Linked DNA regions of Homo sapiens: region 1 is linked to region 2. The links are contacts of gene promoters, found by promoter capture Hi-C in human tissues and cell types (Jung and others, 2019). All regions are on one chromosome and are shown on one strand. Each heading gives the region's core, a stretch centred on a gene start or on the middle of the fragment in contact. The rest is flanking DNA. Distances are from core to core; before and after follow the strand shown.

Region 1 (6,209 bases), core at 1,044-3,543, 140 kb after region 2:
AACTGGAAGAAAGGGTATCAGTGATGGAAGATCAAATGAATGAAATGAAGTGAGAAGAGAAGTTTAGAGAAAAAAGAATAAAAAGAACGAACAAAGCCTCCAAGAAATATGGGACTATGTGAAAAGACGGGGAGAATGGAACCAAGTTGGAAAACACTCTTCAGGATATTATCCAGGAGAACTTCCCCAACCTAGCAAGTCAGGCCAACATTCAAATTCAGGAAATACAGAGAACGCCACAAAGATACTCCTCGAGAAGAGCAACTCCAAGACACATAATTGTCAGATTCACCAAAGTTGAAATGAAGGAAAAAATGTTAAGGGCAGCCAGAGAGAAAGGTCGGGTTACCCACAAAGGGAAGCCCATCAGACTAACAGCTGGTCTCTTGGCAGGAACTCTACAAGCCAGAAGAGAGTGGGGACCAATATTCAACATTCTTAAAGAAAAGAAATTTCAACCCAGAATTTCATATCCAGCCAAACTAAAGCTTCATAAGTGAAGGAGAAATAAAATCCTTTACAGACAAGCAAATGCTGAGAGATTTTGTCACCACCAGGCCTGCCTTACAAGAGCTCCTGAAGGAAGCTAACACATAATAATCTTAACCTTAAATGTAAATGGGCTAAATGCTCCAATTAAAAGACACAGAGTGGCAAACTGGATAAAGAGTCAAGACCCATCAGTGTGCTGTATTCAGGAAACCCATCTCACATGCAGAGACACACATAGGCTCAAAATAAAGGGATGGAGGAAGATCTACCAAGCAAATGGAAAACAAAAAAAGGCAGGGGTTGCAATCCCAGTCTCTGATAAAACAGACTTTAAACCAACAAAGATCAAAAGAGACAAAGAAGGCCATTACATAATGGTAAAGGGATCAATTCAACAAGAAGAGCTGACTATCCTAAATATATATGCGCCCAATACAGGATCACCCAGATTCATAAAGCAAGTCCTTAGAGACCTACAAAGAAACTTAGACTCCCACACAATAATAATGGGAGACTTTAACACCCCACTGTCCACATTAGACAGATCAACGAGACAGAAAGTTAACAAGGATATCCAGGAATTGAACTCAGCTCTGCACCAAGCAGAGCTAATAGACATCTACAGACCTCTCCACCCCAAATCAACAGAATATACATTCTTCTCAGCACCACACCACACTTATTCCAAAATTGACCACATAGTTGGAAGTAAAGGACTCCTCAGCAAATGCAAAAGAACAGAAATTATAACAAACTCTCTCTCAGACCACAGTGCAATCAAACTAGAACTCAGGACTAAGAAACTCACTCAAAACCGCTCAACTACATGGAAACTGTACAACCTGCTCCTGAATGACTACTGGGTACATAACGAAATGAAGGCAGAAATAAAGATGTTCTTTGAAACCAACAAGAACAAAGACACAACATACCAGAATCTCTGGGACACATTCAAAGCTGTGTGTAGAGGGAAATTTATAGCACTGAATAACCACAAGAGAAAGCAGGAAAGATCTAAAATTGACACTCTAACACCACAATTAAAAGAGCTAGAGAAGCAAGAGCAAACACATTCAAAAGCTAGCAGAAGGCAAGAAATAACTAAGATCAGAGCAGAACTGAAGGAAATACAGACACAAAAAAAATCCTTCAAAAAATCAATGAATCCAGGAGCTGGTTTTTTGAAAAGATCAACAAAACTGATGGACCGCTAGCAAGACCAATAAAGAAGAAAAGAGAGAAGAATCAAATAGACCCAATAAAAAATCATAAAGGGGATATCAGCACCAATCCCACAGAAATACAAACTACCATCAGAGAATACTATAAACACCTCTACACAAATAAACTAGAAAATCTAGAAGAAATGGATGAATTCCTCAACACATACACCCTCCCAAGACTAAACCAGGAAGAAGTTGAATCCCTGAATAGACCAATAACAAGTTCTGAAATTGAGGCAATAATTAATAGCTTACCAACCAAAAAAAGCCCAGGACCAGATGGATTCACAGCCGAATTCTACCAGAGGTACAAGGAGGAGCTGGTACCATTCCTTCTGAAACTATTCCAATCAATAGAAAAAGAGGGAATCCTCCCTAACTCATTTTATGAGGCCAGCATCATCCTGATACCAAAGCCTGGCAGAGACACAACAAAAAAATAGAATTTTAGACCAATATCCCTGGCGAACATTGATGCGAAAATCCTCAATAAAATACTGGCAAACCGAATCCAGCAGCACATCAAAAAGCTTATCCACCATGATCAAGTGGGCTTCATCCCTGGGATGCAAGGCTGGTTCAACATACGCAAATCAATAAATGTAATCCAGCATATAAACAGAACCAATGACAAAAACCATATGATTATCTCAATAGATGTAGAAAAGGCCTTTGACAAAATTCAACAATGCTTCATGCTAAAAACTCTCAATAAATTAGGTATTGATGGTGTGACCGGAATTGGTGGGTTCTTGGTCTCACTGACTTCAAGAATGAAGCCAGGGACCCTCGTGGTGAGTGTTACAGCTCTTAAGGTGGCGCATCTGGAGTTTGTTCCTTCTGATGTTCGGATGTGTTAGGAGTTTCTTCCTTCTGGTGGGTTCATGGTCTCTCTGGCTCAGGAGTGAAGCTGCAGACCTTCGACGGTGAGTGTTACAGCTCTTAAGGCAGCACGTCTGGAGTTGTTCGTTCCTCCCCATGGGCTCGTGGTCTCGCTGGCTTCAGGAGTGAAGCTGCAGACTTTCACGGTGAGTGTTACAGCTCATAAAAGCAGTGTGGACCCAAAGAGTGAACAGTAGCAAGATTTATTGCAAAGAGCGAAAGAACAAAGCTTCCACAGTGTGGAAGGGGACCCCAGTAAGTTGCCACCGCTGGCTCAGGAAGCCTGCTTTTATTCTCTTATCTGGCCCCACCCACATCCTGCTGATTGGTAGAGCCCAGTGGTCTGTTTTGACAGGGCGCTGGTTGGTGCGTTTACAATACCTGAGCTAGACACAAAGGTTCTCCATGTCCCCACCAGATTAGCTAGATACAGAGTGTCCACTGGTGCATTCACAAACCCTGAGCTAGACATAAAGGTCCTCCACGTCCCCACCAGACTCAGGAGCCCAGCTGGCTTCACCCAGTGGATCCCCCACCAGGGCAGCAGGTGGAGCTGCCTGCCAGTCCTGGTGCCGTGCGCCCGCACTCCTCAGCCCTTGGGTGGTCGATGGGACTGGGCGCCCTGGAGCAGGGGATGGCGCTCGTCGGGGAGGCTCCGGCCGCACTGGAGCCCACGGAGGGGGTGGGAGGCTCAGGCATGGCGGGCTGCAGGTCCCGAGCCCTGCCCCACGGGAAGGCAGCTAAGGCCCGGTGAGAAATCGAGCACGGCGCTGGTGGGCTGGCAGTTCTGGGGGACCCAGTACACCCTCCGCAGCCGCTGGCCCGGGTGCTAAGCCCCTCATTCCCCCGGGCGGCAGAGCCAGCCGGCTGCTCTGAGTTTGGGGCCCGCCATGCCCACGCCCACCCGGAACTCCAGCTGGCCCACAAGCACCGCGCACAGCCCTGGTTCCCGCTCAGGCCTCTCCCTCCACACCTCCCTTCAAGCTGAGGGAGCTGGCTCTGGCCTTGGCCAGCCCAGAAAGGGGCTCCCACAGTGCAGCGGTGGGCTGAAGGGCTCCTCAAGTGCCGCCAAAGTGGGAGCCCAGGCAGAGGAGGCGCCGAGAGCAAGCGAGGGCTGTGAGGACTGACAGCACGCTGTCACCTCTCAATGGGGCATATCTCAAAATAATAAGAGCTATCTATGACAAACCCACAGCCAATATCATACTGAATGGGCACAAACTGGAAGCATTCCCTTTGAAAACTGGCACAAGACAGGGATGCCCTCTCTCACCACTCCTATTCAACATAGTGTTGGAAGTTCTGGCCAGGGCAATCAGGCAAGAGAAGGAAATAAATGGTATTCAATTAGGAAAAGAGGAAGTCAAATTGTCCCTGTTTGCAGATGACATGATTGTATATCTAGAAAACACCATCGTCTCAGCCCAAAATCTCCTTAAGCTGATAGGCAACTTCGGCAAAGTCTCAGGATACAAAATGAATGTGCAAAAATCACAAGCATTCTTATACACCAATAACAGACAGAGAGCCAAATCATGAGTGAACTCCCATTCACAATTGCTTCAAAGAGAATAAAATAACTAGGAATCCAACTTACAAGGGATGTGAAGGACCTCTTCAAGGAGAACTACAAACCACTGCTCAATGAAATAAAAGAGGATACAAACAAATGGAAGAACATTCCATGCTCATGGGTAGGAAGAATCAATATCGTGAAAATGGTCATACTGCCCAAGGTAATTTATAGATTCAATGCCATCCCCATCAAGGTACCAATGATTTTCTTCACAGAATTGGAAAAAACTACTTTAAAGTTCATATGGAACCAAAAAAGAGCCCACATTGCCAAATCAATCCTAAACCAAAAGAACAAAGCTGGAGACATCACGCTACCTGACTTCAAACTATACTACAAGGCTACAGTAACCAAAACAGCATGGTGCTGGTACCAAAACAGACATATAGACCAATGGAACAGAACAGAGGCCTCAGAAATAACACCACACATCCACAACCATTTGATCTGACAAACCTAACAAAAACAAGCAATGGGGAAAGGATTCCCTATTCAATAAATGGTGTTGGGAAAACTGGCTAGCCACATGCAGAAAACTGAAAGTGGACCCCTTCCTTATGCCTTATACAAAAATTAACTCAAGATGGATTAAAGACTTAAATGTTAGACCTAAAGCCATAAAAACCCTAGAAGAAAACCTAGGCAATACCATTCAGGACATAGGCATGGGCAAGGACTTCATGTCTAAAACACCAAAAGCAATGGCAGCAAAAGCCAAAACTGACAAATGGGATCTAATTAAACTAAAGAGCTTCTGCACAGCAAAAGAAACTACCATCAGAGTGAACAGGCAACCTACAGAATGGGAGAAAATTTTTGCAATCTACTCAACTGACGAAGGGCTAATATCCAGAATCTACAATGAACTCATACAAATTTACAAGACAAAAACAAACAACCCCATCAACAAGTGGGCGAAGGATATGAACAGACACTTCTCAAAAGAAGGCATTTATGCAGCCAAAAGACACATGAAAAAATGCTCATCATCACTGGCCATCAGAGAAATGCAAATCAAAACCACAATGAGATATCATCTCACACCAGTTAGAATGGCGATCATTAAAAAGTCAGGAAACAACAGGTGCTGGAGGGGATGTGGAGAAATAGGAACACTTTCACACTGTTGGTGGGACTGTAAACTAGTTCAACCATTGTGGAAGTCAGTGTGGCGATTCCTCAGGGATCTAGAACTAGAAATACCATTTGACCCAGCCATCCCATTACTGGGTATATACCCAAAGGACTATAAATCATGCTGCTATAAAGACACATGCACACATATGTTTATTGCAGCACTATTCACAATAGCAAAGACTTGGAACCAACCCAAATGTCCAACAATGATAGATTAAGAAAATGTGGCACATATACACCATGGTACACGATGCAGCCATTAAAAAGGATGAGTTCATGTGCTTTGTAGGGACATGGATGAAGCTGGAAACCATCATTCTCAGCAAACTATCGCAAGGACAAAAAACCAAACACTGCATGTTCTCACTCACAGGTGGGAATTGAACAATGAGAATACATGGACACAGGAAGGGGAACATCACACACCAGGGCCTGTTGTACGGTGGGGGGAGGGGGGAGGGAGAGCATTAGGAGATATACCTAATGTTAAATGACAAGTTAATGGGTGCAGCACACCAACATGGCACACGTATACATATGTAACAAACCTGCACGTTATGCACATGTACCCTAAAACTTAAAGTATATATAAAAAAAAGAGTTAGATCTCAACATAGTCCAGATGCAGAAATAAAGGCCTGTTCTTGAAGAGGGAGCTTGTACACAAAAATGTTCCAGATCTCATTTGTGTGTATTGGCAGGACCTGGGAGGCAAGTATGGGAATGCATACTAAAGATGTAGATGAAGGAGAATGAAATAAAGGCTTGATCTAGCTGAAAGCATTGACGCTCAATAGGGATTGAATGTGTTGGCTTGGGAGTAGTTGATACTCTGCTAGATTTGGCCAACTGATTTTGGCTTGCTGATGCCTTGACTCAATGTTGGTCTACAGTTAATG
Region 2 (6,039 bases), core at 1,346-3,845:
AATTGCAAGCTGAGTCCAGAGCTTGGGTCTATGGTAGGCAGCCCTGAGGCCCCATCAATTATAACTCTGGGAGACCCTCCCCAAACCAGGCAAAGACTGCACCCCCACATACCCCCTCCATGAGTCTGCAGCTGTCCTTACTTTCCCGTAGGGCTGAAGGCCACAGAAATGACTGCCTCACTGTGACCCTCCAAGGAGCTGGTGCAGCGAGTCACAGCCCGGACTCTGAAGATAGCCTGTGGCTGGTAGATGATGTCTAGGACCTTCTCTGTCTCCACTGCCTGGGACTCCAACGTCTTCCCCAGTGAGGAGACGATCTCAGCATCGTGGACAAAGAAAGCCAGTGGCAGGGGATCCTCCTGAAGGACAATGGTAAAGGACAAACCCGCAACAATGGATGTGCAGGGGCACCCTCTGCCAGGGATGCTCCCCACTGAGCTGTGGGAGGTGAAGCTTCTTCTTTTCAGCCATCGTGCTAGGGATACCCCCATCATTGCCCATTGAGCAAGACCTTTTATTTATTTATTTATTTATTTTTGAGACAAGAGTCTCGCTCTGTCACCCAGGCTGGAGTGCAGTGGAGCAATCTCTGCTCACTGCAACCTCCGCGTCCTGGGTTCAAGAGATTCTCCTGCCTCAGCCTCCCGAGTAGCTGGGATTACAGGCACCCATCACCACGCCTGGCTAAGTTTTATATTTTTAGTAGATACGGGGTTTCGCCACATTGGCCAGGCTGGTCTCAAGCTCCTGACCTCAGGTGATCCACCTGCCTCGGCCTCCCAAAGTGCTGGGATTACAGGCGTGAGCCACTGTGCCCAGCCTAGCAAGACCTTTTAAGTCACTGAACAGCAGTTGCAGGACACTTACACAGCACTTGGAAATTCTTTTTTCTTTTTTTTTTGAGATGGAGTCTCGTTCTGTTACTCAGGCTGGAGTGCAGTGGTGAGATCTCAGCTCACTGCAACCTCTGCCTCCTGGGTTCAAGCAATTCTCCTGCTTCAGCCTCCCGAGGAGCTGGGACTACAGGCGCCTGCCACCACGCCTGGCTAATTTTTGTATTTTCAGTAGAGACTGTTTTCGCCATATTGGCTAAGCTGGTCTCGAACTCCTGACCTCTAGTGATCTGCCCACCTCAGCCTCCCAAAGTACTGGGATTACAGGCATAAGCCACTGCACCCGGCCTGAAATTCTTTATCTGCATCTCATAACAACCGTGGGAAGTAGATACTAATATTCCCACTGACAGTTTTCAAAAGCAGAGGCTCAGAACAACTAAGTAATTAGTTCAATGTCCTATTGCCAATGATTAATTCAGGTTCTTTACGTCCAAGATAGGATTAGCATATAGCATTATGCAGTGTTTCCCAAACTACCACACTACACTATATTTGTGTAAAAAGCTCCCAAAACGCCTGTTAAAAAATGTAGACTTTCTGCTTCATCCCAGAGTTTGGTTTAGTAAGGCTGGGATGGGGTCCAGGAACTGCAATTTTAAGGACCTCCCCTGTCCCCAGGGCAGCTCTTCAGTAAACACACTGGCTTAAAGGTTAAAAGCAAAGGCCGGGTGCGGTGGCTCACGCCAGTAATCCCCAGCACTTTGGAGGCCAAGGCGGGAGGATCACGAGGTCAAGAGATCGAGACCATCCTGGCCAACGTGGTGAAACCCAGTCCCCACTAAAAATACAAAAATTAGCTGGGTGTGGTGGCGCGCGCCTGTAGTCCCAGCTACTCGGGAGGCTGAGGCAGGAGAATCGCTTGAACCTGGGAGGCAGAGATTGCAGTGAGCAGAGATCACGCCACTACACTCCAGCTTGCCAGCCTGGCGACAAAGTGAGACTCCGTCTCAAAAAAAAAAAAAAAAAAGGTAAATAAATAAATAAATAAAAGCATGGGTATTCGGATAGTTTTGGGTTCCAATTCCAAATCTGCTACCTACTACATAGCATCGTGCAAAATACTGAGTCCCTCCGGGCCACGCTGTAAAATGGGGATATTAACGTGTCCCAGACTGGGGGACTGTGACAAAGAATCAATGAAATACAGCATCCGGTGCGTTCAAAGCTAGGCCCCTCTCCGCAGGTGGACCCCTTTGGTTGGCGTGTAAAGCGCTATGCCACTGATTCCATCTCTGACATAGGTGGGAGCTCACGCCAGGTGGGTCACCACAGTCCGTTAGCGGGGGACCATGAACCGCAGACCCTCGGTAATATGATTCCCCCACCGCATCCGCCCGGGGGTGGAGATGCGAGGCCGCCCTGGCCAGCCACTTACCTGGGCCAGTAGCGCGTTGCACACGAGCTGCAGCCTGTCCGGGGTGATGTCCACGGGCACGTCGAACGGGGAACCCAGCAGCTGCCCGCCCTCATCCTGGAACTGCACTAGCAACCGCTGCACATCGCGCGCCACCGCCTCGTCCTGCGCGAGCAAGTGGGGCGGGAGTCAGTCTGGTCGCCCGCCCAGAAGGGCCCCACTTCGCCTCTCTCAGGCCTCAGGGACCCGGGCCCTAGCGCCCCGCGGCGACGCCCCCCGCCCCCATCCACGCACACCCACCGGCACTGCTGCCGCCATCCTGCGTCCCCACGTGGAGGAGAAAGAGCCCGGCAGACAGAGCGCCGTCTCCGTGGTCGGGCGGGGTCGCCGCCGGCCACATCGCCCTCTGCTGTTGGGGAGGAGAAGCGTCCCGCTGCGCACGGCCTCAGGGATTAGAAATGGGCTTACCTGGTGCTCCTCCCGCCCCTCAACAGCCTTCACATTTATTTTTCGCCAGGGTCTTAGAGGACACAGTAAACTTTTGACTCTTCACAACAGGGATTCTTGCCCCATTTTAATTTAATTTCATTTTGAGACAGAGTTTCACTCCGTCGCCCAGACTGGAGGGCAGTGGTGCCACCACGGCTCACTGCAGTCTCGAACTTTCTGGCACAGCGATCCTCCCACCTCAGCCTCAGAGTAGCCTGGACTACAGGCACATGACACCCTGCCCGGTTATTTTTTTCTCATTTTTTGTAGAGACGAGGTCTCACTATGTTGCCCAGGCTGGTCTCAAACTCCTGAACTCAAGCAGCAAGTCCCCCACTCCCCAGCCTCAGTGTCCCAAAGTGCTGGGATTACAGGTGTGAGCCACCACGCCTAGCCTAGAAATTAGTATCCTTTTAAAAATGGATCAAGTCAAGGCTGGGCGTGGTGGCTGACACCTGTAATCCCAGCGCTTTGGAAGGCCCAGGCGAGCAGATCACTTGAGTCCAGGAGTTCGAGACCAGCCTGGCCAACATGGTGAAACCAGGTCTCTACTAAAAATACAAAAAAATTAACCAGCCGTGGTGGCATGCGCCTGTGGTCATAGCTACTGGAGAGGCTGAGGTGGTAGATTCTCTTGAACCTGGGAGGCAGAGGTTGCAGTGAGCCGAGCTCTCACCACTGCACTCCAGCCTGGATGACAGAGCAAGACTCTGTCTCAATAAATAAATAAATAAATAAATAAATAAATAAATAAATAAATAAATAAAATGGATCAACTCAATAATACTCGAGTACAAAAGCAAATCATTTCTACAATCATCAATGCTGTAAAGCAATAATAGTGATAATGACATCAACAAGTCAGGAATTGTTCTAAGTGCTTTCCCACATAACTCATTTAATTCTTACAACCCTTTTCTCCCCATATTACTGAGGAACTGAAGCAGACAGCAATGAACTTGAGCTCTTTTGCCTGAAACGAAGGATCTCCCTTGCCAACTCTCCTCTCTCTCCCTCCACTGCTCAGGCAGTCTCAAGCTCTGCCAAGTCATCCTCATGAACACAGCTTGAATCTGCTCTCCCCATCTCCACTGCCTCACTCTGGTCAGAGTCACCATCATCACCTGCCTGGACCGCTACAACAGCCTCCCGATGAGCCCCCCCATTTCCATTCCTGCCTCTTTCTACCCATTCTCCACGATGCAGCCAGGGTTATCTTTTCAGACCAAAAATCTGGCCTGCTGCTCTTCACCCTCAAACCCTGCGACGGCTCCCTTACATGCAGGAAAAAAAGAACACTCCTTATAATGGTCAATTCAGCCTTGCTATGTCCAGCCACCCCTCTCTTTAGGTTAAATCTTGCTGGCTTTTTCTGAGTTCTTACAAGGCATGGCTCTTCCTGCATCAGTGATTTTGCCCATGCAGTTTTTTCTGTCTGGAACTGTTATGGAGTGAATTGTGCCCTTCCCCTAATTCAAGCTTGTCCAACCCCTGGGCCACAGGCTGCATGCAGCCCAGGATGGCTTTGAATGCAGCCCAACACAAATTCGTAAGCTTTCTTAAAACATTATGAGATTTTCTTTCGATTTTTTTTTTCAGCTCATCAGCTATCATTAGTGTATTTTATGTGTAGCCCAAGGCAATTCTTTTTCCACTGTGGCCCAGAGAAGCCAAAAGATTGGACGCCTCTGCCCTAATTTATATATTGAAGCCCTAGCTCTGAATGTGGCTGTATTTGGAGATAGCATATATTATTATTATTGTTTTTTTTTTTTTTTTTTAGAGACAGGGTCTCACTCTGTTGCCCAGACTAGAGTGTAGTAGTGTGATCATAGCTCACACAGCTTCAAACTCCCAGGCTCAAGTGCTCTTCTTACCTTAGTGTTCTGAGTAGCTAGGACAACAGGTGTGTGCCACTATACCTGACACTCGGCTAACTTTTAAAAATTTTTGTAGAGACAAGGCTGTCACTCTGTTGCCTAAGCTGGTCTCGAACTCTTGGCCTCAAATGATCTTCCTGTCTTAGGCCTTCCAAAGTGCTGGGATTACAGGTGTAAGCCACCATGCCTGGCCTGGAGATGGGCCCTGAAAGGACATAGGAAGGGTTAATAAGTGAGTTTGTATGGGTAGGACACTAATCAGATAGAACTGGTGCCCTTGTGAAATGAGGAGACTCCAGAGTACTCTCTCTCTGTCTCTCCCCGCCCCCCGCACTGCCTCCCTGAGCACACACAAAGATGAGGCCATAGTAGGACACAGTGAGAAGGTGGCTGTTTGCATCCAGGAAGAGAGGCCTCACCAGAAACCAACCCTCATGGCACCTTGACCTTGGATTTCTCTACTCCAGAGCTGTGAGAAAATAAATTTCTGTTGTTGAAGCCTCCCTGTCTGTGCTATTTTGTTATGGTAGCCAGAGCCAACTAATACAGGAATAGTTCCTCATTCTTCAGGTCTTGCCTTGAATATTTATTCATTCATCCAATAAATGTATTGAGTGCCTACTCTCTGCCAGACGTTGTCGGAGTTCTATGTGTATCAACTCATTTATCACTTACGCAGGGAAACCTTTGAAATGATGTCATATGATGTCATATTTCCCTGTTGTATGTTTTCAAAACATCCTGGTATTCCTCACATTTAGAAATCACAGATCCAGCTGGCACAGTGGCTCACACCTGTAATCTCAGCACTTTGGGAGGCCGAGGTGGGAGTATCACTTGAGCCCAGGAGTTTGAGACCAGACTGGGCAACATGGTGAGATCATGTCTCTACAAAAAAAATAGCCAGGTGGCATGCACCTATAGTCCCAGCTACTCAGGAGGCTGAGATGGGTGAATTGCTTGAACCTGGGAGGTCAAGGCTGCAGTCAGCCGTGATCATGCCACTGCTTTCCACTTGTGACAGCGAGACCCTGTCTCAATTAAAAAAAAAACCAAAACAAACAAACGAACAAAAAAAAGAAATCACAGAATCACAGATCCATGGAATTATTTCATTCATTCATTCATTCAACAAATAGCATTGAGCACCTTCTTTTTATTTTTTCTTCTTTTTTGAGATGGAATCTTGCTCTGTCACCAAAGCTGGAGTGCAGTGGCATGATCTTGGCTCACTGCAACCTCTGCCTCTGGGGTTCAAGTGATTCTCCTGCCTCAGACTCCTTAGTAGCTGGGATTACAGGCACCCGCCACCATGCCCGGCTAACTTTTGTGTTTTTAGCAGAGATGGAGTTTCGCCATGTTGGCCAGGCTGGTCTGGAACTCCTGACCTCAGGTGATCCGCCTGCCTTGGCCTCCCAAA

Evidence for each region. Contacts are between HindIII fragments. The study calls those that stand out against the background at their distance.
Region 1: a fragment that was not itself captured here is called in contact with the fragment with the promoter of NLE1 in region 2 in 1 of the 25 tissues and cell types used here (H1 embryonic stem cells).

What each region holds. Positions count from the first base shown.
Region 1 is chr17:35,275,735-35,281,943 of GRCh38, forward strand. No RefSeq gene overlaps it. Among named protein-coding and RNA genes, the nearest start is that of SLFN5, 36 kb to the left of the region's middle. The HindIII fragment of the contact is 4,983 bases long and covers 1-4,785 here.
Region 2 is chr17:35,139,708-35,145,746 of GRCh38, forward strand. NLE1 (notchless homolog 1) reads right to left here and starts at 2,596. Exons shown (of 13, transcript NM_018096.5): 1 at 2,551-2,596; 2 at 2,272-2,415; 3 at 142-359. The coding sequence starts at 2,568. RefSeq lists an enhancer at 2,027-2,904. The HindIII fragment of the contact is 6,679 bases long and covers 130-6,039 here.